Linked DNA regions of Homo sapiens: region 2 is linked to region 1. Evidence: promoter capture Hi-C in 16 types of primary human blood cells and fetal thymus (Javierre and others, 2016). All regions are on one chromosome and are shown on one strand. The core of a region is centred on a gene start or on the middle of the fragment in contact, and the rest is flanking DNA. Distances in the headings are between cores, read along the strand shown. Region 1 holds the start of CDK14 (cyclin dependent kinase 14). Region 2 holds the start of SRI (sorcin).

Evidence for each region. Contacts are between HindIII fragments. The CHiCAGO score rates a contact against its expected background, and 5 or more counts as called.
Region 2: the fragment with the promoter of SRI here is called in contact with the fragment with the promoter of CDK14 in region 1 in 1 of 17 cell types (neutrophils); the score reaches 5.1 in neutrophils.

The regions. Positions count from the first base shown.
Region 1 is chr7:90,594,477-90,598,720 of GRCh38, reverse strand. CDK14 (cyclin dependent kinase 14) reads right to left here and starts at 2,400. Exons shown (of 15, transcript NM_001287135.2): 1 at 2,003-2,400. The coding sequence starts at 2,093. RefSeq lists silencers at 1,763-1,812, 1,873-2,072, 2,263-2,572, 2,593-2,792. The HindIII fragment of the contact is 4,165 bases long and covers 1-3,155 here.
Region 2 is chr7:88,218,171-88,222,414 of GRCh38, reverse strand. It overlaps SRI (sorcin), which reads left to right and starts at 2,377. Exons shown (of 8, transcript NM_003130.4): 1 at 2,377-2,439; 2 at 3,473-3,556. The coding sequence starts at 2,389. SRI-AS1 (SRI antisense RNA 1) reads right to left here. Exons shown (of 3, transcript NR_120517.1): 2 at 3,191-3,666. RefSeq lists silencers at 2,155-2,654, 3,302-3,391. The HindIII fragment of the contact is 22,346 bases long and covers 1-4,244 here.

The DNA of each region.
Region 1 (4,244 bases), core at 1,151-3,650:
AAAAAAAAAAAAAAAATCCTTAGATAATCAGAATGAGTTCACTGGTTTTAATTTTGCAAATACAATATAAAACATCAAGAAAATAAGAAGATACAGATTTTGTTTCTGTAATGCTACTTTGAATGTCGTTGGCTTGGTATACAACTATAATCACTTCAATATCTCCTATTACAATACTCCATAATGAGATCTACGATTCAGAATCATATTTTCCATCAATACAAGAAATAATCAGCTGTGCTCACTGCACTGCATTCTGTGTCCTAAAGGGAGGATATAAAATCCACCAGCTCTTAGAAGACATTTTAACAAGAGTTGGATTCAAAAGGAGTTTCACATCACTAAATCTCAGTAAGCTAGAAAATCCAATTAACTATAATACCCCCATTTGCCAGCACTGTACTTAATCCAAATTTTACTGATTGTCGATCAAAACCTTGAAATTATTTAAATATAAGGAACTTTTAGATTAATGTCCTTGGTTTCTTACTGAGACTCAATTGCAATGAATTATTTAACACAAAACTGGAGGGGCTCCAGCAGAATCATTAGCATTAGTAAATATATAGTTAATGTGTTTTAGAACACGGCTTAATGGACTCCAGAACCCGCCTCTGCGACGGTTTGGGTCAGGGTTGAAACATCCTCGTTAATAATGCACACGACTCAACATTTCCCTCTCTCACACTCTTCTTGGCTTCAAACTTCATCTTAATGCAGGGACTCTCCACATGTATCCCTAATTCTGAAGAGTGAAATTAATATCCAATACATGCAATAAATAAAACTAAAGATTGGTTTCATACCATAACTTTACAGTCATCTGGGGAAAGATTTTGCATACCAACACAAAATTTTAAGTCGAAAGACAAAAAAAAAAAAAAAAACTTGGCTAAATTTCGATCCATTGTACTCTCTCACTTGAAGAAAGTTTGCATATCTTACAATGAATGGGTGGAAGGATATCTGTAACACTCATGTGCATCCCAGGGTTTTATTTTAAGGAATTAAGTACCTTTATGTTTAATTTCCATTAACACTTTCGTTAACATGGATGACATTTAAAACAAGTGAAACAAAGACTAGGCAGCTTCCTAGGGACTCGCAGGGGTTATCTTTTGTGTCTATAGCATTCTCTTGCTCAGGGCAGTTACATGTTATTAGTGAAAGTTGTGACAGTAGGGGAGGCAGCTAACTCTTCAGGTTAAAAGGGGTTTTCTATGCCCAGTACTCAAAATCTAACAAACCCATTCCACGTGATACTGCTGTCACCCTATTACAACCTGTGACATGCATTTATTCGTCACTGTCCTAAACACTGTTGGTCAGTTGGTTTGTTGTTTGGTTTAAAGACAACAGCCCCTGAGCTCTATTAAATGGAACAAGTTCGAGAGACATTCCTAAATGTCCAGACAACTCCACAGCGCGCATTTCTCTCCAGCAGCGGGAAGATTCAGAGACCTCGAGACTGAACACCCAAATCTCGCTTTCCAGGACCCGAAGTACCGAACAATAGGTCCCAAGGTAACTGTCCCACTTCCCTTTAGGTTGGATACGTTAAACAATACCAGGGCACAGTCTAACGTTTCACCAATTTCCAAAGCTAAATTACTGACTAAACGCCCAATATCCAAGCCTGTGCGCAAAAAATAACAAGTGGCCCAAGCAGCCGCGCAGCCCCTTGCGCGGTGGGGGCCGAGGGGTCCCCTCGCCCGTCCCCCACGCGCGCGAAAGGGCGAGCACTAGTGGCGGAGGAGGGGAGAACCCATATTGTAGGCTTGAGAGAATCTACAAATGAACCCCCAGATCCTGAGGAAGAGGGGTCTCTTTCCTTTACGTCCTTGCCCTCCCCCGGGTCCCTAGCACTGTGCCCTCGATCCCCGCCTACAACGCACCCCACGCCAGCCCCGCTGGCAGCTGCATGGCTGGTGCCAGGAACGCGGCGGGGGCGCAGGCCGAGGGGAGCGGGCGCTGGGGGGGCCGGGGGCAGCGCGCTACTCACCAATGCGACTGAAACTCTCCGACAAAGTTCTCCGCAACTTCTTCATCTTGCCGATCTTCTCGGCCGGCTGCGGCTCAATGAGGTCACACATCTGGGCGACGCGGAGCCCCGACAACTTCCCCAAACTGGTCCAGGCACAGCTCAGACAACGGCGAGGGCGCGCGCCGCGGGGAAAGCGGCGCCTCCTCCTCCACCACCTCCTCGGCGGGCCGGGAAGCGACGCGCAGGTCTAGGGAGGCGAGCAGCAGGCAGGCGGAGGACGGCAGGCTCCGCTCCGGCCTGGGCCGCAGCTGGGCGGGCGGGGGCGGTTTACGTGGTGCCGGGGGCGGCCGCGCTCGCCGCCGCCGTGGTGGCCCCGCGCCGCGCCGCCGCCGCCCGGCTCATTTTCCCTCCTTTGTAACGGAGAGAAGCGCGGCCGGCAGGGGGAGTGGTGCGGCCGAAGGAGGAGGCGGGGCGGGCCGGGTACAAGGTGCGGGAGTCGCCTGGCGCCGAGTGCGCGGGGCGAGGGCGAGTGGGCCGGCGGGAGAAGTTCTCAGCCCAGAGTTGCGGGCGCAGCGCAGAAGGAGCCGCGGCGCGGAACCGCCAGCCTGACAGCTCCTGCTGCCCTCCTGCTGCCGCCGCCACGCCCCTCCCTCGACGAAGGCCCCTGGGCGCGGGATCCTAGCACGACCTCGGCTCCCCGCTCGCCTCCCGCGTCCTCCGCGGCCCTCTGTGTCTGGCTCGCGCCCCGGCGGCGCCCCCTCCCGGCCGCGCCCCTCCCGGCCGCCCCCGCGCTCCTCCCCCGCCCCGCCCGCGCGCGGGAGGATCACGAAGGGACCGGGGTGGGAGCGGGCAGCGTCTGGGGACAGCGTGTTGGGCTGTGGGGAGGTTACCGAAAGGAAACGGGCCGAGTCCAGTTGTTTGAGCGGTTTTCTCCTTCCACGAGCGTGTGTGAAAAAGCGCGGAGTTCGGTGGAGGGCAGCTGCCAGGACTGCCTCCTGGACTGGGTGCGGTAAGGCCTTAGGGATGCATTCAGATGTAGGGTGCCTTATTTTGGGCCGAGAAAGCTGTCAAGTGAAAGATCCAAGGGGAAAGGTGGGCCTGGATTTTTTTGTTGTTGTTTGCGGTGGGTTTTTTGTTTGTTTTGAGGTCAAGTGCAGAAGCAGCGGAAGCTTCAACTGTAACCCTCCAGAAGGCAGGGATCATGCTGTTTCCCTCATCCTTGTCTCTGATCTTGGTGACACATGTAGGTGATTTCTGATAGGAATACCCAGTTCTGCAGTAAATAGCAGACACAGCCCTTGGTCTTTTTCTATTAAATTCTTAGAATATATTTCTGAATTGGGAGATTTAAAGGCTAAACAGATTCCGACCTCCTTTTCCCCCACCTCAAAAACAGAACTTTAAAAAGGAGTGGGGGAGGTGTTTATAAAATCCCAGGACAAACAGTTCCAGCAGCGAACACACATCGTCTTCATTCTGAAAAAACCTGGTGCGGCGTGAGTTCCAAACGTCAGTCTCCCAGGGGAGAGAGAAGGAAGGTGGGGGAGGGCTTGATTGTGTTGATCTGAGGCCAGCAAACTCCTTATGAATAGAAACGTTAGTAATCTTGAGTCATTTGGCTGTGTAAGTAATAAGAGCTTGTGAGGGTGTGACAATGCTGTTTGGCTTGTAGGAAATTTTGGGGAGTTTATGTTTTGTTAAAAGATTTTTATCTTAAAAACTAGCCCCCTGCCTTCCTTAAATTGTGAGGTAAAACAGTGATTTGTTCCGCCCTACACTGAGCACATTGTAGGATCTTGATAGATTGCGGATGATAAAAGACAGGAAGTCAAGCTAAGTGGGGAGCAGAGGGGGGCAAGGAATTCGCCAGGAAAGACCATATGAGTTAAAACGCAAAGCTGTTGGATCCTGGCTGCCATGTCTAGATAATTACAGACAGCACCAAGGGTGGCCTCATACCGGAAAAAAGTTTGACTTTTACCACTTCCTCAGGTTAGTTAGGGAGAAAGTTTTCAGCAGTTATGAATGAAAAGACAAATGCAACCAATCAAAACACTAATGGGTTGTACGAGTCAACAAACACGAAGAAATATTAATTTAACGAACTTTCACTATTATACACCTGTGACTGTTATCCACTGTGACAATGGCTGTTTCAAATATATAATATGTTAAATATATGTTTATTTTACCTTCGCAGTATTTTTTTTTTTTTTTCCGAGACAGGGCCTGTCGCCCAGGCTGGAGTGCAGTGGCGCCA
Region 2 (4,244 bases), core at 1,128-3,627, 2.4 Mb after region 1:
AAAACCACTATGAGATACCATCTCACACCAGTTAGAATGGCAATCATTAAAAAGTCAGGAAACAACAGGTGCTGGAGAGGATGTGGAGAAATAGGAACACTTTTACACTGTTGGTGGGACTGTAAACTAGTTCAACCATTGTGGAAGTCAGTGTGGCGATTCCTCAGGGATCTAGAACTAGAATTACCATTTGACCCGCCATCCCATTACTGGGTATATACCCAAAGGACTATAAATCATGCTGCTATAAAGACACATGCACACGTATGTTTATTGCGGCATTATTCACAATAGCAAAGACTTGGAACCAACCCAAATGTCCAACAATGATAGACTGGATTAAGAAAATGTGGCACATATACACCATGGAATACTATGCAGCCATAAAAAATGATGAGTTCATGTCCTTTGTAGGGACATGGATGAAATTGGAAATCATCATTCTCAGTAAACTATCGCAAGACCAAAAAACCAAACACCGCATATTCTCACTCATAGGTGGGAACTGAACGATGAGATCACATGGACACAGGAAGGGGAATATCACACTCTAGGGACTGTGGTGGGGTGGGGGGAGGGGAGAGGGATAGCATTGGGAGATATACCTAATGCTAGATGACGAGTTAGTGGGTGCAGCGCACCAGCATGGCACATGTATACATATGTAACCAACCTGCACAATGTTCACATGTACCCTAAAACTTAAAGTGTAATTAAAAAAAAAATTCAATTCTTTAGCAGTAAAGCAGTGGGAAGATGTCTAAGGACAACTGATATGCCAATTCGTATAGCCGTTTATCCACGAAGCTAATTCTGCAGTACTTAAAAATATTTTATATGCTTTATACTTCTTTCAAACTTGAGTCTTGAGCTTGTACTCAACATCGAGTTCGGCCCTGACATCTACTCTTTATAGTCGGTTACCTCTTTCTGAAGAAACAGGCTTCCAAAGAGAGACCAGGGGACTCATTAGATGTCTCATCTACCTTGATGATTGCTACCTTGATGATTGAAAACAGTAACCTGCTTCCTGAATCAAACACAAAACAGGCAACATGCAGTGTCTTTGCTATGCCACAACAGGGACTATTAGAATTTTTCTCACAATTCGGACTTTGGTTTTCAAAAGGGCTTGCGAGGGAAGTTACACACAAGAGAAAAACAATGAACCGAATGAGGACAATAGCCCACGAATTTAGAATGGAGGAAGCCCGTCCACCACAGCGAAAAAGCACAGTACCACATTGGCGGGTGCTCCAATATTTGTGAAATGTTGATGACCCTTTAAATGTTTCTGTGCAACCTCCACAACAAATACTGTGAATCTTGCTTATTAATGCGTTTCTCAATACGTTAAAATTCAGGAAATCATTAAGTCTAGTCCTTAACAGTGAAGGGCAAGCAATTTTCTGTCATTGAAATTACACAAAACAAAACAAAAAGCTCACGCCTGAATTGCTTCGGACTATTCAACTGGAAGATAGAAAAATATATGAAGTAAAGAAGAATAACCTACATAGAAGTTCCTATCTCTTATCTTCCTGAATACTTACCAGTACACTATTAGTTTGTTCTAAACTTTTCTTATATAAAAAGTAGCTGAATACTTTTAGGGAAATGGATTGTTTTGTCTGAATCATCCAGATAATTCAAACAATTCATTTTCCTAAGAACGATATGTGTGAGTCTGTCCTGCCCGGAAAATGCCCTCTGTCCTACTCAGGACACAAGTCACGCTCAGCTTAAACAGGCAAGGAATTGTCCCCTAGGAAGGAAATACGCCGTTGTCGTTCAGTGAACTCTGCAACCAACAGCAAGCCAAACTCTCCCTTGCACACAGTTCGTCAAGTTAATTCTTATTTTCCAAGGGCGCTTTCGTATTTCCATCTTTCAAAGACTCCTTCACCCACTGGCACCTAAGGCTTGCCCTAACGCATCCAGCCCCTGCCTCGCGATGGTGCGCTCCGCTTATAATAGCTCCGTCCTGTCCAATAAAGTTGTTTAAAATAAGAAATGTGCCAGATAATAGCCAAGTCCGAAGGAAAAAAAAAAAAAAAGAATTCCTGGGGTGGTGTATTGGTGTTGGAATGTGCCATTAGTTTTGGAGGGAGGAAAGTCCCTGGTGTGAATTGCCTCGCAGGTCGTAGGCCGCCACTGGACCTTCAGTCGTGCACTGCATTAGCGCCGTAATGGCAAAGATACGAAGAAGCGCGCAGGCAGGGGAGCCACGGCCGCGCGCACAGGCAAGAGCTGGAGACGACTGCGGAGCGCGTCCCCCACGCCCGCGTGGTGCGCTCTGGGGCGGCCCCCTAGCGGCAGGGCGGGGCGGGGCAGGGGGCGGAGAGGCCTGGCGCACAGGGCGAGGGCGGCTGCGGCGCAGTCTGCAGCATGGCGTACCCGGGGCATCCTGGCGCCGGCGGCGGGTACTACCCAGGCGGGGTAAGTGCTGACTGCGCGGGATCGCGGCCCAGGCGGCTCCGGGGCGCTAAGAGGCCACCTTGGAGATGCTGCGGCCAGCGGGGTGAGGCGCTGCTGGGCGGCTACCCGGGCTCCTTCCGCCCTCGGCTTCTCCCTGCGCTCGCGGCCTCGCCCTAGGCCCCTGGGGTTCGGCCTCTCCCCACGTTTCCCCGTCCCTTCTCCTGGATGGCCCTGCGGGGCCAAGGTGAGGGTGGATTGGGACCCTAGAAGCCCACCCTGCGGCTTCTCGGATACGCGGCGTGAAATCGTGTTAATTGGGTGTTGGCTGACCCCCACCCCACCCCACCCCCGCCTTCTTGGTTGCCTCCCAGAGCAACAACAGTCATTTTATTCTAGAATGATATACCTTCCTCCCTTTAAAAAACAAACAAACAAACAAACAAACAAACAAACAAAAAACGAGTGAGAAGGGGGACGGAAAAAAAGGGAAAACCTGCTGAAGTAAAAGACCTGTAGGAAGGCAGCCTCGCCGGGCGTCTGGGATGCGCGTTGTCTTGGGAACTGTTTCCGAGACAGGCAATGTTCCCTCGCCACCCACGAGATACAGCCCGGCCGGACACCTTACTCTTCCCTAGGCTACACCCGTCTCAGAATGTTACCAACTCCAGCCTTCCATCGTTCATAAAACGCTCTTAAAATACCATAAATGCTGTAACAACAAAAGGAGAATTTGAAGCCCTGCCATTCGTTGGCTTACCTAGTTTGCACTCACCTCAGTAACCTTCAGGTTAATAGGGATTTTAAAAGTTGCTTTACATATGTAGACATCACTTTCACAGCAACTCTTTATGGTCTAAGTCGCCAGTTTTTAAATTACGGGGTGTGAATGGAAGAGAGGGGTGGAGTGTTGGCAGAGTGTGCCCGGTGGTGGGGAGGTGAGCCTTGTGAAGGGCGGGCAGGCGGGCAGTTGTCTGGCCTTGCACAAAAGCCCTCAGTGGTGAAAGAAGAAAACTTGATTCGGCAGAATGACGTGTATGTGTTTCCTGTTTCACAGTATGGAGGGGCTCCCGGAGGGCCTGCGTTTCCCGGACAAACTCAGGATCCGCTGTATGGTTACTTTGCTGCTGTAGCTGGACAGGTTAGCTTTTCCCTTTAATATTAAAGAGCCGTTATTGTCTGCATTTGTGGTAGCTTTTGATATAGTGACACAGAAAAGCGAACTTCCTGTGGTACTGAGTCCCTTTGCTTCTGCAAAAGAAAAAAAAAGTTGTTTCTTATTTTAGTTTTTTATTTCTGAATGTTCAGAATAAATGAGGACAAAGTGTTACTCGTATTTATGTGAGTTCAGTTCGAAAGCAAACTTGTGGTTGAATTAAAGGGTCCAGGATGGTTTCAAGCGAAAAAATTCAAGATCTGGTAAATATAAACGCTTGTTTGTACAACTTAAAGACATATATTAGTAATTACATAGCTCGATTCTAATGGGCACTTTCTTTGGGTTGAACTTGATTGCTAATCATTCACCCCCTTAGGAAATATGGTAAAAACCCACCAGCTTCTAAATAAGGAAGTTACTGTTCCCTTCTTAGTATCAGAAAGTTAATCTTGTGAACAGTGTAGTTTCTCTTTGATGCAGATGCTGTTACTAGGTCAGCCCCTCCATGTCCTTATTAGGTGTTCTGGCCTGTTGACCCAGAGAAGCAATTAAGGTCAGCTCCCCAAGACCTTTCACTTGTCTGCATTCTGAGTTGTATGACAGGTGCTATCTTACATTGACAGGTGCTATCTTACATTGAGAGAGGACACTTCCCTAGTTCATGAGGTCA